Linked DNA regions of Homo sapiens: region 2 is linked to region 1. The links are contacts of gene promoters, found by promoter capture Hi-C in blood cells and fetal thymus (Javierre and others, 2016). All regions are on one chromosome and are shown on one strand. The core of a region is centred on a gene start or on the middle of the fragment in contact, and the rest is flanking DNA. Distances in the headings are between cores, read along the strand shown.

Region 1 (5,157 bases), core at 512-3,011:
TGCTTATAAAGACAAACAGTCTGAGATAATGGCCAACAGAATGTGCCATGTGGCTTTGCATGATAAGCATTATACTTGCGGCATGATGAATAAACAGAAAACACTCTTTAACAAGTTCTAGGCCCAACTATCAACAACCATCCGTAGGAGGCTGAGGTAGGAGGACCACCTGAGCCCAGGAGGTGGAGGCTGCAGCTAGCAAGATCATGTCACTATTCTCTAACCTGGGCAACAGAGCAAGACTCTGCCTCACCAACAAAAAATAAAAAAATAAATTAAAACACTATCTCTTGCACCATTGCACTCCAGCCTGGGTAACAAGAGTGAAACTCCATCTCAAAAAAAAAAAAAAAAAGAAAGAAAGAAAGAAAATTATCACATCATCTTGTATTGTTACAGGGAAACTTAGATAAAAAAAGAAAATGCTCACAGACAGCTGCAGGAAAGTTCTAAGCAAATTTTCTTCTTACTTTCATATATTCCCCTGAAGTTCAATGTGCATTATAAATGTGCTATGCTACTGTACAAAGTATTATGGTCACTTCCTTTAATAAGTTTCATGTGGCCAGGAGTTCAAGATCAGACTGGTAGGTAACAAGACCTCATCTCTACAAAATAAATAAATAAATAAATAAATAAGAATTTTTTTAAAATAAGCTTCAGCTAAGTTTATCAAAAGCAAGTCAAGTGTTGCTAAATTCGACTGGCTTAAAAAAAAAAAAAGCAAAGTGAAAAGGCTACAATTATTCCAAGTTTTGTGGTGCTGTTAAATAGCTATTTAAAATGTCTTCAAACGCCTGCAAGTGTAAGATTCTTGAAGGAAAGAGGGCACTTTACACTAAAATTGGCTGGCAAGTACATCAATGAATGTTTCCAAAACAGTTAGTGTAGCACAATAAGGCAAAAGACCCCAGGACTTCAAACGAACAAAATTGCTCCTTCTCAAATCTGGCAAGAAATGCAAAACAACTGCAGATTCTGGCCAAGGAACAAAAACAGTTCACATCTATAAGTTATTGGCGACGGACGCAGATCTCATTCTGGCAGGTCCCACGCTAAAAGTGAAACCATATCATCCAATTTCCAGCCAACAGATCACAGTGTTAAAAGAAAACAGTAACCAATACGCATCAACCCGAATTCATTTTAGGAAAAATTGAAATCTATTTTAAAAAGCACGTCGTTCTGCAATCAGGGTCCTGCAAAGTGCTGCTTCTCAACTCACTGAGGATCAAGCTTGGTCTAAATCCATGGTAGGATACCTCCCCCATTTCCTTCTGCACTTGGCACAAGGATCTAAAGCTCTTCAAAGAAGGTTCAAGACCGCTGAACAGAGCCCGCCGCCACCCCCGCGGAAGCGATACCTTGCCAAGAAGACCACTGAGGGCAACTCGGGGCGCTCGCGAATAGGGGAAGGGATAGGACACCAGAGGGTAAACTGAGTCACGGTAGAGGCGGAAGCTCAATGTGACAGGGGCACAGGGTCGCCTTGTGCCCCAAACCCTCTCTTTGTCCACGAGGCCTCCTCACGCCACCCCTGGGTACCTGTCACCGGCAGCGCACCCGCGGCACACGCACCGCTCGCGTCTCCCTTGCAGCCCATGCCCGGGCCGTGGTCAGTCCGCCACAGTGCCAGAGACAACGCCAGGGCAGGGCGGGGCGAGGCGGCAGCGGCAGTGCAGGCTGCGCCAGTGAGAGGCCGACACGCGCCTTTCCCGCGGCTCGACTCAACACCCAGCCTCGCAAAGCAATTGCCCAGCTGCCGGCCGCCCTTTTACTTCCGCTTCCTGCAGGCGAACGCTGGAGGACTTCCGGATACCGAGTCGAGACCTAGCAGCCCAGAGCGTCGCGCGGTCGCCCTCTCATCTCCGAGGGTTGGGGAGGGGGGAGTCCTGCCTCTCTCCTCACTTCCGCCTTTCAGGGTGGCGGGTAGGCTGCCGGTCTTCAAGGTCTTGGGAAGGTTCGTTGGGCCAACAGCTGAGACCCGAAAGCTTCAACAGTCAGTCGGTGAAATCCAGTTTGGACTCTGGGACTTACTCCCTTAAACCTTTGTTAAAAGCTTACTCCCTTTAGCCTTTCGGTGGCACAGTAAGGACAATTGTCTTAATGTTTCTGAGCATCTTAGACTTTATACTAAACCCTAAAATTTTGATAGCTACCTTCCAGGAGGCATGATGAAAGGAAGACTTTTTAAATTTTATGAGCCGCTTGAGCTTTCTTATTCGGACAGCGGCAGCTTAGTCTACAGGGACTACTTTGTCCTTTTAGTATTTTTTTTTTAACTAATATAAACCAGTTTAAAATTGTTTTGGAATAGGTAGCATTTAACCCACCCAAAAATGAATACCTCTTTGGAGGGTATATTTTTAAGTATATTAAGTCAAAGTGAATGAAAAGCCAAAAATATTTTTTTGGAGTTGGAGTCTCGCTCTGTCTCCCAGGCTGGAATGCAGTGGCGCGATCTCGGCTCACTGCAACCTCCGCGCCCCCGCCCGCGCCCCCCACCCCCCAACCCCCCGACCCGCATTCAAGCGATTCTCCCACCTCAGCCTCCCCAGTAGCTGGGATTACAGGCGTGCGCCACCGCGCCTGGCTAATTTTTGTATTTTTAGTAGAGACAGGGTTTCACCCTGTTGGCCAGGCTGGTCTCGAACTGCTGACCTCAGATGATCCACCCGCCTCGGCCTCCCAAGTGCTGGGATTACAGGCGTGACCCACTGCGCCCGGCCCAAAATAATTTTAATAAATAAACATGAGCCAACATGATGAAGGGGAGGAAGGAGAGGAGGATGAAGGAGATGACTAATGGAACACTGATGGAGGCCGGGCGCGGTGGCTCACGCTGAGGATGGAGGCTGAGGCAGGAGAATGGCGTGAACCCGGGAGGCGGAGGTTGCTTGCAGTGAGCAGAGATCGCATCACTGCACTCCAGCCTGGGCGAGAGAGGGAGACTCCATCTCAAAAAAAAAAAAAACAGCAACAACAACAGCAAAAAAACACTGATGGATTCCAACCTTCCTTTTTTTACATTTTCTCCAGTCCCTGGGAGCAAGTTGCAGTTTTTTTGTTTTTTTGTTTTTTGTTTTTTCTCTCTTGTGCTCAGTCGCCCTGTTCTTGAGGTTTCTTTTCTCTACACTATAGTTCTCAACTTATTTTGGGGGAAATAACTTCAGCAGAATACAATGGGAAAAGAGTCTCTACCCCTTTCTGTTCGAAATTCATTTTTATCCCTTCCTGTCTGAGCAAAAACTGTATAGAATCAACATCACCCCAGCTCTGTGGGAAAAAAGAAAAACCTGCTCCCTTCGCCCTGCTGGAAGCTGGAGGGCTCTAGGCCCATGTGTAGCAGAGCATTCAATTCTAGCTTTCTTCCTGCTTTCTCTGTATATTGGGCTCGGAGAGTACACTGGGTCTCTATGTGAATATGGACAGTTAGCATTTACCAACATCTTTCTGTCTACTTTCTCTTGTTTAAAAAAAGAAAAAAACTTTAAAAAATGGGATTCTAGAAGTCAGCAAAGGGTGGGTCTGAGATGTTTGGGTGGGTTAAGCGGACATTTTGACAACATGGCTTCTCCTTTGGCATGTTTAATTGCGATGTTTGACACACATCCTTGCAGTTTAAGATGACGCTTTTAAAATAAATTCTCTCCTAATGATGACTTGAGCCCTGCCACTCAGTGGGAGAATCAGCAGAACCTCTAGGATCTTATTTGGAATTGACATTCTCTATTGTAATTTTGTTCCTGTTTATTTTTAAATTTTGTTTCACTGGAAAGGAAAGATCATGCTCAGTTTTAAATGTTAAAAGTGTACAAGTTGCTTTGTTACAATAAAACTAAATGTGTACACACACCTACGAAAAGAAAAAAACATGAGCATTTTAAAATTTATTTCACAAGGGAGCTGTTGTGTTAGCTTTCCATAGTGTATTTTCTAGCCCTCTTTAAATCACATCAGCTAATGCTTCAATAAAAAGGAAATTGTTAATTCACCTCATTACAAAGTTGATTATATACTTTTTCTTGGCCTTATCTTGATCTTCTGCTATGTGATCCATGAACAAAACCAAAGTTTGCTTAGTTTTAAAATACAGCTAAGTGGTAGCACAGAGCTTCTAGGAAAGTTGGATTTCACCTTTTCTAAACCTTTCTCTGAAAAGTGCTACCTTATTTGAATAAAAACAGATTTTAAAAAATTTTTTAAACTTTTTATTTAGAAATAATTATAAATTCACAAGAAGTTGCAAAGATAGTACACAGAGGTACTTTGTACCCTTAAGCCCATTCCCCCAATGATTACATTTCAAATATCTATATTAAAGTATGAAAACCAGAAATTGACTTGGTACATTGTGTGGGGGAGACAGGTATATTTCCATCATTTTGTGTATGTCTGTACATTTGTGTAACCACTGCCAAAATGAAGACCCACAACTATTGCAGCACCACAAAGATCTCCCTTGTGCTACCCCTTTATGAAGTCAGAACTACTTTCCTACCCCCAAAACCCCTAGCCTGTGGCAACCATCATTTTGATCATTAAATATAAAATTTTTCAATTCTAGAATGTTATATGAATAGTATCACATAGTATGTAGCTTTTTTATTTATTTATTCACTCAGCATAACCACCTGTGGAGCCATACAAGTTGTAGATATCAGTAGTTTGTTCCTTTTTATTACTGAGTAATATTCCATGGTACAAACATACAGATTCATTTTAGCATCACCTATTGAAGGATATTTGGGTTTTTTCCAGTTCTGGACTATTACAAATAAAGCTCCTATTAACATTCATGTACAGGTTTGTATTTATATTTATTTATTTATTTATTTAAAATTACAAAAATCAGCCAGGCATGGTGGTGGGCGCCTGTAATCCCAGCTACTTGGGAGGCTGAGGCAGGAGAATTGCTTGCACCCAGGAAGCAGAGGTTGCAGTGAGTAGAGATTGCGCCACTCCACTCCAGCCTGGGTGAGGAGCAAGACTCTGTCTCAAATAAAAAAAAATTATTTATTTATTTATTTATTTATTTAATAGATCAGGTCTCACCATGTTACCCAGGCTGGTCTCAAAATCTTGGGCTCAAGCAATCCTCCCCACTTGGTCTCCCAAAGTCCTGGGATTACAGTCATGAGCCACCACGCCCAGCCC
Region 2 (4,799 bases), core at 682-3,181, 1.7 Mb before region 1:
CTGTGATGAACATATGGGTGCAAGTGTCTTTTTGGTATAACAATTTACTTTCCTTTGCGAATACATCCAGTAATGAGATAGCTGGGTTGAGTGACAATTCTATTTTCAGTTCATTGGAAATTTCCAAACTGCTTTCTGCCTAATTGCATTGCCACCAACAGTATATAAACATATAATTTTCTCTACAACCTCTCCAACAGTTATTATTTTTTGACTTTTTAATAATAGCCATTCTGACTGGTAAGAGGTGGTATCTCATTGTGGTTTTGATTTGCATCTCTCTGGTGATTAGTAATGTTGAACATTTTCTCATATGTTTGTTGGCTGCTTGTATGTCTTCTTTTGAGAAGTGTCTGTTCATGTCCTTTGCCCACTTTTTAATGGGGTTGTTTCTTTCTTGTTGATTCATTTAAGTTCCTTATAGATTCTGGAGATTAGTCCTTTGTCGAGTACATGATTTGCAAATATTTTATCCCATTCTGTAGGTTGTCTGTTTATTCTGTTGAGAGGTGTTTTTTTGTTTGTTTCTTTTTTTTTTCTTTTTCTGTGCAAAAGCTCTTCAGTTAAGTCTCATTTGTCTATTTTTGATTTTGGGGTCTTCATCATAAATTATTTGCCTAGGCCAATGTCTAGAAGAGTATTTTCTGGATTTTCTTCTGGATTTTTGTAGTTTGAGGTGTTACATTTAAGTATTTAATCTACTTGCATTAATTTTTATATATGTTGATAGGCTAGCCAGTTTTCCCAGGACCATTTATTAAATAGTGTGTCCTTTCCCCATTTTTTTTTTTTTTTTTTTTGTTGACTGTCAAAGATGAGTTGGTTATAGGTATGTGGCTCTATTTCAGGAGTCTCTGTTCTGTTCCATTCGTTTATGTGTTTGTTTTTGTATCAGTACCATGCTGTTTGGGTTACTGTAGCCTTGTAGTATGTTTGAAGTTGGATAATGTGATGCCTCTGGCTTTATTTTTTCTGCGTAAAATTTCTTTGGCTATTTGGGCCCTTCTTTTTCCTTTTTGACTGTTGTTGCTTTAAAACCTATTTTATCTGATACAAGAATAGTGACTTCTGCTCTTTTTGTTTTCCATTTACATGATAGATCTTTCTCCATGCCTTTACTTTGAGACTATGGGTGTCGTGACTTGTGAGATGGGTCTCTTGCATAGAGCAGAAGGATGAGTCTTGTTTTTAATTACCAATTTGCCACTCTGTGTCTTTTAAGTGGGGCATTTAGGCCATTTACATCCAAGGTTACTATTAATATGTGAGGTTTCATTCCTGTCCTAGTGTTGTTAGCAAGTTACTTTATAGGGTCTGTGGGCTATGTGCTTGTGTGTGCTTTCATGGTAGCAAGTATCGTTCGTTCCTTTATTACCATATTTAAAACTCCCTTAAGCATCTCTTGTTGGGCCAGTCTGGTGGTGACAATTTTCCTTACTGATTGTTTTTCTGGGAAAGAGTTTATTTCACCTTCGTTTATGAAGCTTAGTGAGGCAGGATACGAAATTCTTGGCTGGCATTTTCTTTCTTTCAGAACGCTAAAAATGGGCCCCCAATCTCTTCTGCCTTATGAGGTTTCTGCGAGAGTCAACTGTTAGTGTGATGGATTTCCCTTTATGGGTAATATGACACTTTTCTCTAGCTGCCTTGAAGATTTTTTCTTTTGCATTGACCTTGGCTAGTTTGATGACTATGCGCCTTGGTAATGGTCATCATGTACAATATCTCCAGGAGTTCTCTGGATTTCTTGTATCTGCATATTGACCTCTCTCACAAGTTTGGGAAAATTTTCCTGAATTTTATCCTCAAATCTATTTTCCAAGTTGCTCCTTCTTTTCTTAAGTCATTTATTTGGTGACTTTACAAAATCCCATGTTTCTTGAAGGTTTTGTTCATTTTTAACATTCTTTTTTCTTTATTTTTGTCTGACTGGGTTGATTCAGAGCCCCAGTCTTTGAGCTCTGAAATTCTTTCTTCTGCTTGGTCTAGTCTGTTGTTAAGTCTTCCAACTATGTTTTGAAATTCCTATAGTGAAATTTTCATTTCCAGAAGTTCTGTTTGGTTCTTTTCTAACGTAGTTATGCTGTCTTTCAAAACTTGGATAATTTGTTCTGTTTTCTTTGTGTTGGATTTCAGCTTTCTATTGGAGCTCATTGAGTTTCTTTGCCACCCACATTCTGAATTCTCTGTCATTTCAGACATTTCATTCTAGTTAGGATCCATTGCTTGGTAGCTGGTGTTGATCCTTCGGAGGTGATGAGACACTCTGGCTTTTTGTATTGCTAGAGTTCTTGTGTAGGTTCCTTATTATCTGAGAGAGCTGCTGCTGCTGCTTCTTTCTTTTATGTTGAATTTGCTATTCTTTGAATGAAGCTTCTTGATTTTTAAGCTCTTTTTTCTCTTAAAGGAATGACTGTGGTGTATACTGTGTATGAACCATTGGCTTTGTCTCTGGGCGCTTTCAGTGTGCCAACGCACTGTACGTGTTCCTTGATTGCATACAGGTTCAGGCTGTTGTCCAGTAGGTGGAGCTTAAGATTAAGAGTTGGCAGGTACGGGTGGGGACAGAGGCAATGGAGAAGGGTGAAATGCACGTTCAGTGAGGATGGAGCTGCTGGAGCAGTCCCAGAAGCAGTCTCTTTTAGCCCATCCTCCCTGAACCCAGACAGGAAGAGCTGCTGCTGAGTCAACAACAGTGCATTAAGGAGGGAGGGCAACAAGGAAAGACCCCTCTCTGAGTCTGTTTCAGGCCAACGGTAGTGTCATGCCTGCATTTCCTTTGACTCAAGGGAGGCTTTGGCGGGCTGTGCTGGGTCCATCACTCTCTTAGGGGCCAAGGCTTAGCTCTCTGGGTCTGGGTGTTTTCACTAGCAAAGAGCCTGTCTGAGTTCCTTGGTTACTGTGGCCTCTGTATGGTGGCTTCCCCAGATGCTGGTTGTAGTGGCATATGCTGGGCGTGTGGGCAGGCCTGTGCCTCTTGTGGGGGCAGGGAGGCAGCAGTCTCAGGAGCTCCTCTAGTTCCCCATTGCTCTGCGTTGGTGTTAGCAGATTTTCTATTGTGCTGCCCCATTTGGCCTCTAAGCCAACGAGTGGCTCGGTGGCTTGTATGGGTAGGAGCTGGCTGTGGCACAAGCACCAGCTCTGAGTGGGAGTCCAGTGGGCAGCCACCAGTGCCCAGAGATGTTCCTAGGCGTGGAGCTAGAAAACCTCTTTGGCCCCAAGTAGCTCTGCATGGGAACCTCAGGTGGCTGCCTAAATTCCTAATCCAGGAGAGGGTGGGTTCCAGATGCCTGGCGGCCTGCCTGGGCATGAAGCAGAGAGGGCTCTCCTGTACCAGGATCTCTGCTCAGGAAGGGTGGGGCAACTCAGGCTTCTCATCTGGGTGAGCAGGTGCTCTGAATGCCTGGGGATGGAAAAGAGCGGGTCCTGATGCACCACAATTCCAGAGGAGCAGGCTGGGACCCCGGCAATGACGTGCACAGACCAGTTATAGGTTGCCAACTAGGCGCTGGCCACAAGTCTCTGGGACGAGGAGAAACCACGCTGCAGCAGCTCTCCTCCCACCTCAGACCTGTGACAGGGAAGATCACAATTCCAGTGCCTACTGCTGGGGCACTTTCCACACTTGCCATGAATTCTGGCTGTGTAGGCCCCTAACTTGCTCCAGAGGAAGCACTCCAGTCTCTGGCCTGAGACCAAAATGCATGCATGGCCATGCTGCTGGGTTGCCAAAGAATGACTGACTCTGTATGAGCCTGGATTAAAAAGGCCATCCTGCTCTCAGTCCCAGGTCTGGGAAAATGCCTGCAGCTTTTCTAGGTGTCTTTCTTTCTCAGTGTCTCCAAGCCTGTCTCTGAGTCAGCTCCAGGACTTGGGAGAGAAAAAGTGCTCCCCTCTTTGTGGGTTGCTTGGATCCCTAGGGGATAGGGGAGGTGTTCTGCCCCTCGCAGGTCCTGGGGCTTCACTCACTTTTCTCAGTGGCTGGATGGATACTGTCACGGGGCTTTCTGCCTGCCTTCTCCTCCCTAGGATCTGGGGTGTCCTTCACTGTTTTGTGGATTCCTATTTTCCTTCTTGAGTTAAAACTCAGAGTTGGTCTTTATGCACTATTTTGCTATTTCCAAGTAGCCAGGGCAAGCTAAAAGCCTCTAATCTGCCATGTTAGGGAAAAAACTAGTTTCATGCATGTTATAAGAAATTATTTTCATCAAATTGATACATTCCATTTTATGCTACTAAGTTAAGTGAGACTTCCAATGAGAAGCAGCGCCCACTTCCCACCCATCCCAATCTCTGGCCCTGCTTGCTATGAACAATCAGTTTCATTTCTTGTGGTTCTTACCTCCATATATAATCTGCACACACTGGATAGTTAAAAACATATGTATTGTGGTAAAATCCCCATAATATAAAACAGTTAACCATTTGATATGGTTTGGCTCTGTGTCCCCACCCAAATCTCATCTTGAATTGTAACTCCCACAATTGCCATGTGTCGTGGGAGGAACCTGGTGGGAGGTAATTGAATCATGGGGGCGGGTCTTTCCTGTGGTGTTCTCCTGATAATGAATAAGTCTCACGAGATCTGATGGTTTAAAAAATGGGATTTTCCCTGCACAAGCTCTCTCTTTGCCTGATGCCATTCATGTAAGATGTGACTTGCTTCTCCTTGCCTTCTGCCATGATTGTGAGGCCTCCCCAGCCATGTGGAACTGTGAGTCCATTAAACCTGTTTCTTTTGTAAATTTCCCAGTCTCAGGTATCTCTATCAGCAGTGTGAAAATGGACTAATACATCAT

Evidence for each region. The method cuts DNA at HindIII sites, captures the fragments that hold promoters and counts their contacts. A CHiCAGO score of 5 or more calls a contact.
Region 2: a contact is called between a fragment that was not itself captured here and the fragment with the promoter of UGGT1 in region 1, in 1 of 17 cell types (M1 macrophages). The highest score is 7.1, in M1 macrophages.

What each region holds. Positions count from the first base shown.
Region 1 is chr2:128,087,804-128,092,960 of GRCh38, reverse strand. It overlaps UGGT1 (UDP-glucose glycoprotein glucosyltransferase 1), which reads right to left and starts at 1,761. Exons shown (of 41, transcript NM_020120.4): 1 at 1,546-1,761. The coding sequence starts at 1,603. RefSeq lists an enhancer at 1,690-1,999. The HindIII fragment of the contact is 755 bases long and covers 1,239-1,993 here.
Region 2 is chr2:129,746,623-129,751,421 of GRCh38, reverse strand. No RefSeq gene overlaps it. Among named protein-coding and RNA genes, the nearest start is that of LINC02572, 130 kb to the left of the region's middle. RefSeq lists an enhancer at 3,090-3,702. The HindIII fragment of the contact is 889 bases long and covers 1,487-2,375 here.